Regions from separate parts of the Homo sapiens genome. Here regions 2 and 3 are each linked to region 1. Evidence: promoter capture Hi-C in 16 types of primary human blood cells and fetal thymus (Javierre and others, 2016). All regions are on one chromosome and are shown on one strand. The core of a region is centred on a gene start or on the middle of the fragment in contact, and the rest is flanking DNA. Distances in the headings are between cores, read along the strand shown. Region 1 holds the start of RPGRIP1L (RPGRIP1 like). Region 2 overlaps CHD9 (chromodomain helicase DNA binding protein 9). Region 3 overlaps CHD9 (chromodomain helicase DNA binding protein 9).

Region 1 (3,597 bases), core at 234-2,733:
GCTTAGGAGACATAATAATGAATTATCCAGCCCAAAATGTTAATAATAGTGTAGAAGCTGAAAAACCCTGCACAATGCTGCAATGCCTCTCCAACACCATCTTATGTTATCCTTCTTTGCTCACTATGCTTCACTTACATTATTCTTTACTTTCCTCGAACCCCCCATACCCTTGTCTTGCTCAAGGCCTTTGTATTAGCTGGTTCCTTAATCTTTGGAGCTCAGTTCACTTCCTCAGACAGGTTTTCCCTGACCATCCTATGTTAGAGTAGTCTTCCTTACATTTCTTCACTGTTTATTTCTTTTCTTTTCTTTTTTTTTTTTTTGAGACAGGGTCTTGCTATGTTGCCCGGGCTGGCCTTGAATTCATGGGTTCAAGTGATCCTCCCACCTCAGCCTCCCGAGTAGCTGGAACTACATGTGCGTGCCACCAAGCATGGCTTGTATCTCTTATAGCAACTGCCTCTATCTGAAGTTATCAGATAAAATTATTGTTTGTCTCCACTAAAAAAGGATAAACATCTTGAGACGGGTATTAGTCTTGTTCACAACTGTTCAGGAACAGTGCCTGGTACAGGGTGGGAACCAACATTAATATTTATTGAATGATTGGCTGTGCGTGGTGGCTCACACCTGTAATCCCAGCACTTTGCGAGGCCGAGACGGGCGGCTGACTTCAGGCCAGGAGTTCGAGACCAGCCTGGCCAACATGATGAAACCCTGTCTCTACTAAAAATACAAAAATTAGCTGGGTGTGGTGGCACACGCCTGTAATCCCAGCTACTCGGGAGGCTGAGGCAGAAGAATCGCTTGAACCTGGGAGGAGGAGTTTGCAGTAAGCTGAGGTCTTACCACTGCACTCCAGCCTGGGCAACGGAGCAAGAACCTGTCACACACACAAAAAAAAGAATAAAGAAAAAATATTTATTGAATGAATAAATGAATATCAGGTACTGAGATTAAAATGGCAAGCAAAACCCCCGCCTTTATGAAGCTAGCAAGTTATGGAGGTAATCACATGATAAACAAATAATATATAATTAAGCAAACAATAGACCACTCAGGAGGTTTAGGGTCTACCAACCAACTCCTAATCCAGGGCAAATGAGCAAACTGTGTTAGGGACCTACAACTTGCAGGATCTGGATAGAGATGGCAATTAGCAGCATCAACTCTCACCTTCATGGCTGGGATATAACATTTCAAATTGGTCCTGGACGTGGGGATAAAGGGCGGCCTGTGATTCAGGCCTGAGGATGTGGAGGTGTCTTGGGCTGGGCTGCTTTCACGCCAGCAGAACTCCAGGGCCAACTCCAGGGCCTTCTCCAGGCGGCAGAGCGGACCCTAGGACCCCGGCCCGCGCTGCAGTGGGGAGGGTCAGCAACCTCCACCCACCCTCATCCTCCCCCATCCTCCCGGGTACTCACCGTGCCACTGGCCCTGCAGCTAGCTACCGTTGCTATAGCGCCGACAGCGTGGCGGGCGGCTGGCCGAGAGGAGCACGGGAGAAACATGGCAGGCTCCCGTAGCCTCCTGGGAAATGTAGTTCTCCTTGGACTCTAGCCTGTTTGCTCGCGGGGTAGCGGACTACGCTCTTCCAGCTGTCGGACCTGGGAAATTCTCCTGTGCTAAATCCCGTGGCGCTCGCGGGTGTCGCCGCGGTGCATCCTGGGAGTTGTAGTTTTTTCTACTCAGAGGGAGAATAGCTCCAGACGGGAGCAGGACGCTGAGAGAACTACATGCAGGAGGCGGGGTCCAGGGCGAGGGATCTACGCAGCTTGCGGTGGCGAAGGCGGCTTTAGTGGCAGCATGAAGCGCACCCCGACTGCCGAGGAACGAGAGCGCGAAGCTAAGGTATGTCGGGCTCCCGGGGCCTGGAGATCTTCGTGCGCTGTGAGCAAGGATCAGGGAACCGGAAGGGCTTGGTTTGATGGCGAGCGGATGCGCGGTGTTAAACTAAGGGATGACAGGGCCTTGTCAGCAAGGGACCTGGAGATATTAGAGGGGATGTTACAAATTCGTGCTCTTCAGGATGCAGGCCGAGTCTTGTTGGATCGGCTCAAAAATGAGAAGCAAGATACCCATTTCCTTGTCCTTCTTCTGCATCTATTCCTTGGTTAAATTTGTCGCCATCCCTGTGCCTCAGTTTACCGGATTCTCAGATGACTGTGATCATACCAGCTGTGCTTTCTCATAATGGTCTCTGAGGACTGAGATCGGCTTAGATGAAATATCTGTGCAGTCAGCTGTGTTTCTTTGGAACAATTGTCTCCGTGACCGGCTGATAACAGTTTGTGTCTTTTAGCGCTGTGGATATGAATCTTTAACTACATTGCTCCTCTCTACCTTTGATGTTCAGCTTCTGGTAGTTGCCATTCCATGGGATGACCATAATAATGGCAACAGAGATTTTAAAAAGCATTTATTGTGGGTCAGGCACTGTATTAAGTGCATAATATTTAAATTATTTCATATCATTGTCACAGCAGATTGCAAGATAGATATTATACAGATGGAGTATAAATAACAGCCCAGCTTCACAGATGAAGAACTGAGGCTCAGAAGCATTGAGTGTTTTCCTTTCTCTCATTCCCAAACTCAGATCCTGTTGATTTGTCTACGTATATTGGGAATATGCCCACTTTTTTTTTTTTTCATCTCCACTACCTTGGACCAAGCTACCATTATCTTTTTAATAGACTGTTGGAATAGCCTATTGATTGGCCTACACTCACTCTACACCCTAACTTAACTCTTCTTCCACCTTCTCTCCCTTCCCTCAACTACCATTCTCTTCTGCACACCATAGAGTAAGATCTTCGTGAAATGCAAATATAATTATGTCCCTTTCCTTTCTCCTTACTCTGCCAACCACCTGTTTAAAAATATTCCATGGCTTTCTGTTGCTCTTAGGATAAAGGCAAAACTTCACATTGCCTACAAGATCCTGCATGATCTGGACCCTACCTGCTTTCACAACCCCATTGGATATGACACTCTGCTCTCTGCCTACCAGTCACTTTGGCCTTCTTAAAAGTCACTCTTCACTATACTTTATCGGGCTTCAGGGCCTTTGCACATGTCATTTGCTGCCTACTCTATGTTAGGCAAATATTGGCAGTGAATAACAGTGTTAAATAACGTAGACACAGTTCTTGCTTTCATAGAATTTCATCTTACACGTGAGTCTGTTTAGGGCAATACACCTAAGGATTTAAAATATAAAATCTGCTCTATATTGACCTGAGTTATTGCAGTATTTCGTAAGGGACCAGAAGTTTTCATGCTTGAGTCTGCATATGATGTGGATAATATATTAAAGATAAGCACAAAGAGGGCGACCCTTCTGCTTTAGTCTACACAGTGCAAAGAAACAAATGTCACCTCATGGTGTTGTGCATGATGTCTTTCTCATCTTTCAGGTTTATTTTTAAAGTATTTCATTTATTCTGTGAAGATTTGTTGAGCACCTATTATTTGCCATAAGTTGGGATTATAATTTTGGCTGAAATAGAATCACTGCACCAAAGAAGCTCTTACTCTATTGAAACCATAACCATTGCCTGTGAGGGAGTTACTAGTGTCATCCATATTTTA
Region 2 (3,873 bases), core at 136-2,635, 570 kb before region 1:
ACCTTCCTGGTTTACCTCTGGAAACAGGATAGAGCTGAAGGAGGGGCTCGATATATGAATATAAGAGGCAAGAACTGAAGTAGAAATACAGATTTTAAAGTAAAATCTATTGCATCTATCAATAGTAAAACAAAATTTTGGTACATATGAAAAGTTAAGATTTTCTAAAGATGTGTTTATTGATCGAAATGTCATAGAAAAAAAAGCTTACCTCCGTAAATAACAGAGAAGAAAAATGAAATCCTAGAGAGTCTATAAAGAAAAACTATGAATTAATCTACTGGGGAAATTTCATCGGGTAATGAGTGAATAAAAAACACAGGTAAGAATATGGAAACTTGAGGCAGTTGGTCAGAGTAAAAACTAATGGAAGCATGTTGTAAGTGCTTGGAAAACTTCAGAAGCCAAAGATTGGAGTCAGAAGAGATTTATGGATACTGATGAGATAGAGTTATTTTAACCTTTCAAATTCTTTGAAGTTGTCTTAACGTGGGATATAGATTTCTTATATAAGATTTAGCTTTTTTACACTTATTTACGTTGTAAATTTAAAGTGCCACATTCCAGTTTTATAACTGTTCCCTAGCACTTTGTGCCTCTGTTTACTTCCTTATTTGGGCTTCACTCCCTTACTTTTCCACCTCTTGGAATTTTACCAGTCTGTGAATACTCAGGTCAAATTCCACCTTGTGAATAAAATCGTATCTTGTCCTTGTAGCCCTTAGGGATTTCTCCTTCCCATGAGATCTTAGTATAATTATTTGTTGCACTTATTTGGCATACCATGTACAACTTCCTGACATTTCCTCTACTGTATTGTCTTTAAGCTTTCAGAAACAATTTTTATTCCTTTCTTTTAGAAACAGTTGGAAAGCTGATCAAGTGACAATGGGAGACCCAAAGAAGGGGAAACCACTTTGAACTGTAATTTATTCTCTGGACTCAAAGTCATTCACATCCATTTATTCATTAAATGTATATATTATGAAGTGCTCCCTTAATTTATGATATATGTATTAAGTGCATAATAAGTGATCCCTGCCTTCATGGAACCTACCATCTAACAGTGCAAACAGATAAAGAACAAGTAAATAAACAAATGGAAAATTACAACTTATGATCAGTTCAGTGAAATAAAAGAACAGAGTGCTATGGTGGAGAAAATGGGGAGAAATTAATGTTGTATTCTCAGAGAAGGCTTCCCTCAGTTGGTGATTCTAAGTGGAAACAGAATAAGAAGACAGGTCAGGAGAGAAAAGAGTTTCTTGGAAGAGAGAAAAATATGTTTGAAGGCTATGACACAGGAAAGAACTTAATATTTGAAAGAAATGAAAAGTTCAGGATGGCAGAAGCATAATAAGGCAGAAAACCATATGAGCTGAAATGAGAGATAGAAAGCAGATTATACAGGGCCTTGTGGGGCATATTAAAGACTTACAGGTTTTACTAAAGACATTGCAGTCGTTGAAGATTTTGAATTAGAGAAGTGATACGCTTTAATCTACATTTTAAAAATGCTACTTTGAGAATGGATTGGAGAAAGGCAAGGGTGAAAGTAAAGATATTGTAATACTACAGTAGTCCAGGAAAAACATGATGGTAGCCAGATTATACATATATTTTAGAGAGGAGATGGTGAGGTGTGGAGGAGGAACAACTGACAGATTCATGATGGATTGGATGTGAGAAGAAAAGTGTCAAAAATGATTTCCTGGTTCCTGGCTTGAGAAACTAGATAGATAGTGGTGTGTGATTTACTGAGATGAAGAAGATGAGGGAAAGGAAAGATTTGGCAAGAAAACAAGTTTTGAACACCATCCCTGGACAAGTGCTTCAGAAGAAGTCTACCTTTATCTGAATGATAAGCGCCTTAGAATAGGTTTAGCTAGAAGTGTGATACCATACAATGACATATTCATATTGTGTTATTTGAGAGGAAGAAGCAAGCTTCATATTTATGTTAGAAAAACTGGTGAAATGATCTTTTTTAACAATGCACTTCAGTTTTTGAAAGTTTATTTGAATATTTTCATAATGGATTATATTAAATATGAAAATTTGAGAGAAATAAATCAATATAATATTGAATGGATATATATAGTATTGGGTGATGGTGCAGAATACAAAAGTTTTATAATCTTGATATTCTCAGGAGAGTAGCATTCTTTTCAGTTATTAGCTTGTAAGGGAGCCTGATAATTTATAATTTTTAATGAGGCTTCTCATTTAATGGTGCTTATAAGTAGAAGTTATAGTTCAGTCATTACTAGCTATTATTTCTAAAATAGCTGTCAGATACTGATGTTTCTGTTACAATTTGGCATTATGAAGTTAACCAAGCAAATATTAAGTTTGGTTTTTGTTTGATTTTTACTATATTTCAAAACATTTTAAAACTAGTAATTTTAAACATTGTTATTGCTATAAAGGGACATAGTTTGAAACCAGAAAAAAGATGACCTTTCTTGTCTAGTGGTCTTTTCATATTAGTTTACTTACTAATCAGTAGCAGTATAAAGAATATTCAATTTTATTCTATTGGAAATCAGTAACTATGGTTCTGAAAGATAACTGCTGATGTATCTTGTTCCTTTGTAAGAGGAAGGAAAAAATGATATTTTTTGATTCTGTCTTTGCAATGTTTATCTTTAAAATGGCAATCAAATAGTCACTAAAATTTTTTTCTTCCATTTAAGGAACTGAGTACCTTTTCCTAAAAAAAAAAAAAAAATCTAGGAATTTAAGATTACAGACTTGGTGTAGTCTGTTTTACAGTTGAAGCAACGGAGGTACAGAGAAACTGAGTTGCCCGGGGTTTCTAATATTAGGGAATGCTTTATTTCATGGGTTTCATAATTTAGTGAATTCACTACATATTCCAATATATGAACACACTTATTCTGCTTTGGTGAGTGTTTATTGAAATCAGTATTGTTATTGGCACCCTGAAAGCTTTCCTTATATTCTTTTCTAGTTATTCCCTTTCTGTATTCTGTATTCCCAAGATAATAGGGTGACCATTATCTTGATGTCTAAAAACCATAGATTAGGTCTGCCTATTTTTGAACTTTATTAAATGAAATCATATAATAAGTGTTCCTCGAGTAACATTATTTTTGTGAGACTAATCTGTGTTTTTCTTTTTTTTTTTGAGACAGAGTCTTGCTCTGTCGCCAGGCTGGAGTGCAGTGGTGCAATCTCGGCTCACTGCAACCTCCACTTCCCAGGTTCAAGTGATTCTCCTGCCTTAGCCTCCCAAGTAGCTGGGCTTACAAGCACCTGCCACCACGCCCAGCTAATTTTTGTATTTTTAGTAGAGACGGGGTTTCACCATGTTGGCCAGGATGGTCTCGATCTCTTGACCTCCTGACCTGCCCGCCTCGGCCTCCCAAAGTGTTGGGATTACAGGTGTGAGCCACCGTGCCTGGCCTAATCTGTATTTTTCTATATAGGAAGAGTTTATTCATTCTCATTGCTGTTGATTCTAATGTATGATGGATGTTTTTAGTTTTGCACTATTATGAATAATACTGATATGAACATTCCTACACCCATCTTTCGGTGCACATGTGCCCACGTTTCTGTCAAGTTTGTATTTCTGGAAGTGGAAAAACTGGTCATAGAAATATGTATGTTCAACTTTAGCAGTAATGCCTTATGGTTTTTCAAATTTGTTGTTCCAATTTCTACTCCTTTTAGCAGTGTGTGAGAGCGCCAGTTACTTCACATTTAATTGTATGATTTGATTAAAATGCTGCTATATTTGAAAAATTTTGTGCTCTTCTTTAATCTCTGAAGATGAGTATTTGATGATGAATAGCTATTTCTGCCTAAATGAGATACAGTACAAAGGAATGTGAGATAACAAATATA
Region 3 (3,466 bases), core at 221-2,720, 640 kb before region 1:
GGCAAGAGCCCGTAATCCCAGCTGCTTGGGAGGCTGAGGCAGGAGAATTGCTTGAACCTGGGAGGTGGAAGTTGCAGTGAGCCAAGATCACGCCATTGTACTCCAGCCTGGGCAACAACAGCGAAACTCCATCTCAAAAAAAAAAAAGAAAGAAAAAAGAAAAATAATGTCTGCGTAACTTCCAAATCAATATCCATGACACTTTCACAGTCATATATGGATGCACGTAGAATAGTGAAAAAGTTGAGTCACCCAACGTGCACATTTCCAGCCAAGGGCAAACAGGAGGACACGCTGCTTTCTGGTTTCAGCTCTTGTGCTATAAACAAGTGTCCCTTTTGTGGTGTACTTAGTGCCACATTTTTTGCATGTTTGTGTGTTTTTGTTTGTGATGTCGCTGTTTGAAATGGCCCCAAGTGTACAGTTGACGTGCTGTCTAGTGTTCCTAAGTATGAGAAGGCTGCGATGTGCCTTACAGAGAAAGCTTGTCTGTTAGGTAAGCTTCGTTCAGGCATGAGTTATAGTGCAGTTGGCTGAGTTCAGTGTTAATGAATAATATGTATATATATCAACAATATATATCAAATAAGGTGTCTTTTGTCTTTGTTTTTGTTTTTTTGAGATGGAGTCTCACTCTGTCTCCCAGGCTGGAGTGCAGTGGCACGATGTCAGCTCACTGCAGTCTCCACCTCTGGAGTTCAAGCGATTCTCCTGCCTCAGCCTCCCATGTAGCTGGTACTACAGGCACATGCCACCACGCCCAGCTAATTTTTGTATTTTTAGTAGAGACGAGGTTTCACCATGTTGCCCAGGCTGGTCTCGAGCTCCCGACCTCAGGTGATCACCCACTTTGGCCTCCAAAGTGCTAGGATTACAGGCTCAAGCCACAGCACCTGGCCTATAAGGTATCTTTAAACAGAAACACACATAAACAAAGGTTATGCATTGATCTGCCAGGCAGAAGGTGGGGTTAGAAAAAGATGTTTCTGGCAGAAAGGTCAGCATGTACAGAGATAGCCAAGAGCTTGGCAAGGCCAGGGGACTCAAGGAGAGCCAGTGGGCAGGGAGTGTGGTGGTGAAAGGGAGAGAGGCTGGGGCCAGGCGGCTCAGTGTCTTGTGGGCAGCTCTCATTTCATCCGATTAGCACGGTAATCCTGGCAGGTTGGACAGGATCATTTCCGCCTTTGAGAGATGATGAAATTGACGTTCCATGCTGTTAAATGACTTGCCCAAAGTTGCACTGCTGGTAAGCAGCAACACCCCCCACCCTCCAACTTAATCTAATGTTGACCAGACATTTGGGTTTTTTGTTTTGTTTTGTTTTGTTGGTTTTTGGTTTCTTTTGTTGTTGTTTTTAAGACACAGGGTCTTGCTCTGTCACCCATGCCTCCTGTAGTGGTATGATCATAGCTACTGCAGCCTCAACCTCCTGAGCTCGAGGGATCCTCCCACCCAGCCAAGTAGCTGGGGCTACAGGTGCACACCATCATGCCCAGCTAATTTTTTAAGTAGGGTCTTACTGTGTTGCCTAGGCTGGTCTCCAACTCCTAGACTCAAGTGTTTCTCCTGCCTTGGCCTCTCAAAGCACTGAGATTACAAGCATGATCTACCTTACCTGGCCAACATTTGGGTATTGATCAGAAATCTCAGGACGTGGGCTGGAGGTTTGGTTTGTTCTGGGGAGAAATCAGTAACTAAGTGGTGGTGAAAGTGATCAAGCGTCGATGAAACCACGTGGGATAGTGGCAGGGTGTGGAGAAGAAAATTTCTCATGTCCTTTAAAAAAGAAAAATATTTCTGGTGGCTGGGCACAGTGGCATATGCCTGTAATCCCAGCACTTTGGGAAGCAGAAGTGGGAGGAATGCTTGAGGCCAAGAGTTCAAGACTAGCCTGGGCAACATAGTGAGACCCCCACCTCTATCTTTAACAACAAGAAAAATGGAAAAAAAATTTAGTCAAAAAATATTACTGGTATAAAGACATGAATTCCTCTGTGAAAGAGTCTTAGGTACTTGCAGAGGGTGGGAGTAATGACCATGGTCATAAAGATGTGGCAAAAGGAAATGTGAGGTTCTGATTCAAACTGCCCCCAAATACTAGGTCTGGGCATCGGCCTCCCCACTCATGGGGCAGCCAGGCCTCAATCTGCCTCTTGTCTCTGCAGGATAATGACCGTGAACAGGCATCAGCAAACTTTTTCTGTAAAGGTCCAGAGAGTAAATATTTTGAGCTTTATGGACCATAGGGTTTCAGTTGCAACTGCAGTAAATTCTCAATTAATGTCCTCGTTAGGTTCTTAGAAACTGCAACTTTAAGCGAAATGACGTACAGTAAGTCCAAGTAACGTCGTTTCTTGTAATGTTGATGAGAAACTGCCACTGTAGAGTAAAAGCAGCCGTAGATGGTATGTAAACAAATGAGTATATCTGGGTTCCAATAAAGCTTTATGGACACTGAAGTTTTGAATTTCACATAATTTTTCTGTGTCACAAAATATTATTCTTTAAACATTTTTTTCAACCATTTAAAAATGTAAAAGCTGGCCAGGCATGGTGGCTCATATCTGTGATCCCAGGACTTTGGAAGACCAAGGAGGGAGGATTGCTTGGGGCCAGGAGTTCAAGACCAGCCTGGGCAACATAGCAAGACCCCCATCTCTACAAACAAACAAACAAATAAATAATGTAAAAACCATTCTTAGCTCACAGGCTATACAAAAACAGGCAGTAGGCTGGATGTGGCCTGTGGGCTGTAGTTTGCTGACTCCTGATCCCGAATAATGAGACCTGAGGATCAGAAGGATACTAGGTAGGTTGGGTGCAGTGGCTCATGCCTGTAGCCCCAGCACTTTGTGAAGCTGAGGCAGGAGGATTGCTTGAGGCCAGGAGTTCAAGGTCAGCCTGGGCAACATAGTGAGACCTCATTTCTATTTTAAAAATTTTAAAAATTAGCTGGGGCCTGGATTGGTGGCTCACACCTGTAATTCCAGAACTTTGGGGGGCTGAGGTGGGAGGATTACTTGAGTCTAGAAGTTCCAGACCAGCCTGGGCAACATAGCAAGACCCCATATCTACAAAAAAATGAAAAATTAGCCAGGTGTGGTGGTGCACCTGTAGTCCCAGCTACTCAGGAGGCTGAGGTAAGCGAATCAATTGAGCTGAGGAGTTTGAGGTTGCAATGAGCCATGATCATGCCACTGCGCTCCAGCCTGGGCAACTGAGGGGGACCCTGTCTCAAAAAACAAACGAAAATTAGCTGGGCATGGTGGCATGCACCTGCAGCCCCAGCTACTTGGGAAGCTGACGGGGGAGGATCACTTCAGACCAGGAGTTTGAGACTATAGTGAGCCATGATTGCACCACCGCACTCCAGCCTAGGTGACAGGGCAAGATGTTGTCTCTTTTTTTTTTTTTTTTTTTTTTTGAGACGGAGTTTCACTCTTTTGCCCAGGCTGAAGTGAAATGG

The links. Contacts are between HindIII fragments. The CHiCAGO score rates a contact against its expected background, and 5 or more counts as called.
Region 2: a fragment that was not itself captured here is called in contact with the fragment with the promoter of RPGRIP1L in region 1 in 5 of 17 cell types (activated CD4 T cells, naive CD8 T cells, total CD8 T cells and 2 more); the score reaches 8.3 in activated CD4 T cells.
Region 3: a fragment that was not itself captured here is called in contact with the fragment with the promoter of RPGRIP1L in region 1 in 4 of 17 cell types (total CD4 T cells, total CD8 T cells, naive CD8 T cells and 1 more); the score reaches 6.8 in total CD4 T cells.

The regions. Positions count from the first base shown.
Region 1 is chr16:53,702,376-53,705,972 of GRCh38, forward strand. RPGRIP1L (RPGRIP1 like) reads right to left here and starts at 1,484. Exons shown (of 27, transcript NM_015272.5): 1 at 1,428-1,484. It overlaps FTO (FTO alpha-ketoglutarate dependent dioxygenase), which reads left to right and starts at 1,781. Exons shown (of 9, transcript NM_001080432.3): 1 at 1,781-1,854. The coding sequence starts at 1,810. RefSeq lists a silencer at 1,394-1,443 and enhancers at 1,479-1,979, 1,594-2,003. The HindIII fragment of the contact is 16,527 bases long and covers 1-3,597 here.
Region 2 is chr16:53,133,842-53,137,714 of GRCh38, forward strand. The region is part of intron 1 of CHD9 (chromodomain helicase DNA binding protein 9); the gene reads left to right. Among named protein-coding and RNA genes, the nearest start is that of CHD9, 81 kb to the left of the region's middle. The HindIII fragment of the contact is 1,120 bases long and covers 826-1,945 here.
Region 3 is chr16:53,057,520-53,060,985 of GRCh38, forward strand. The region is part of intron 1 of CHD9 (chromodomain helicase DNA binding protein 9); the gene reads left to right. Among named protein-coding and RNA genes, the nearest start is that of CHD9, 4.3 kb to the left of the region's middle. RefSeq lists an enhancer at 510-559 and a silencer at 3,106-3,332. The HindIII fragment of the contact is 1,942 bases long and covers 500-2,441 here.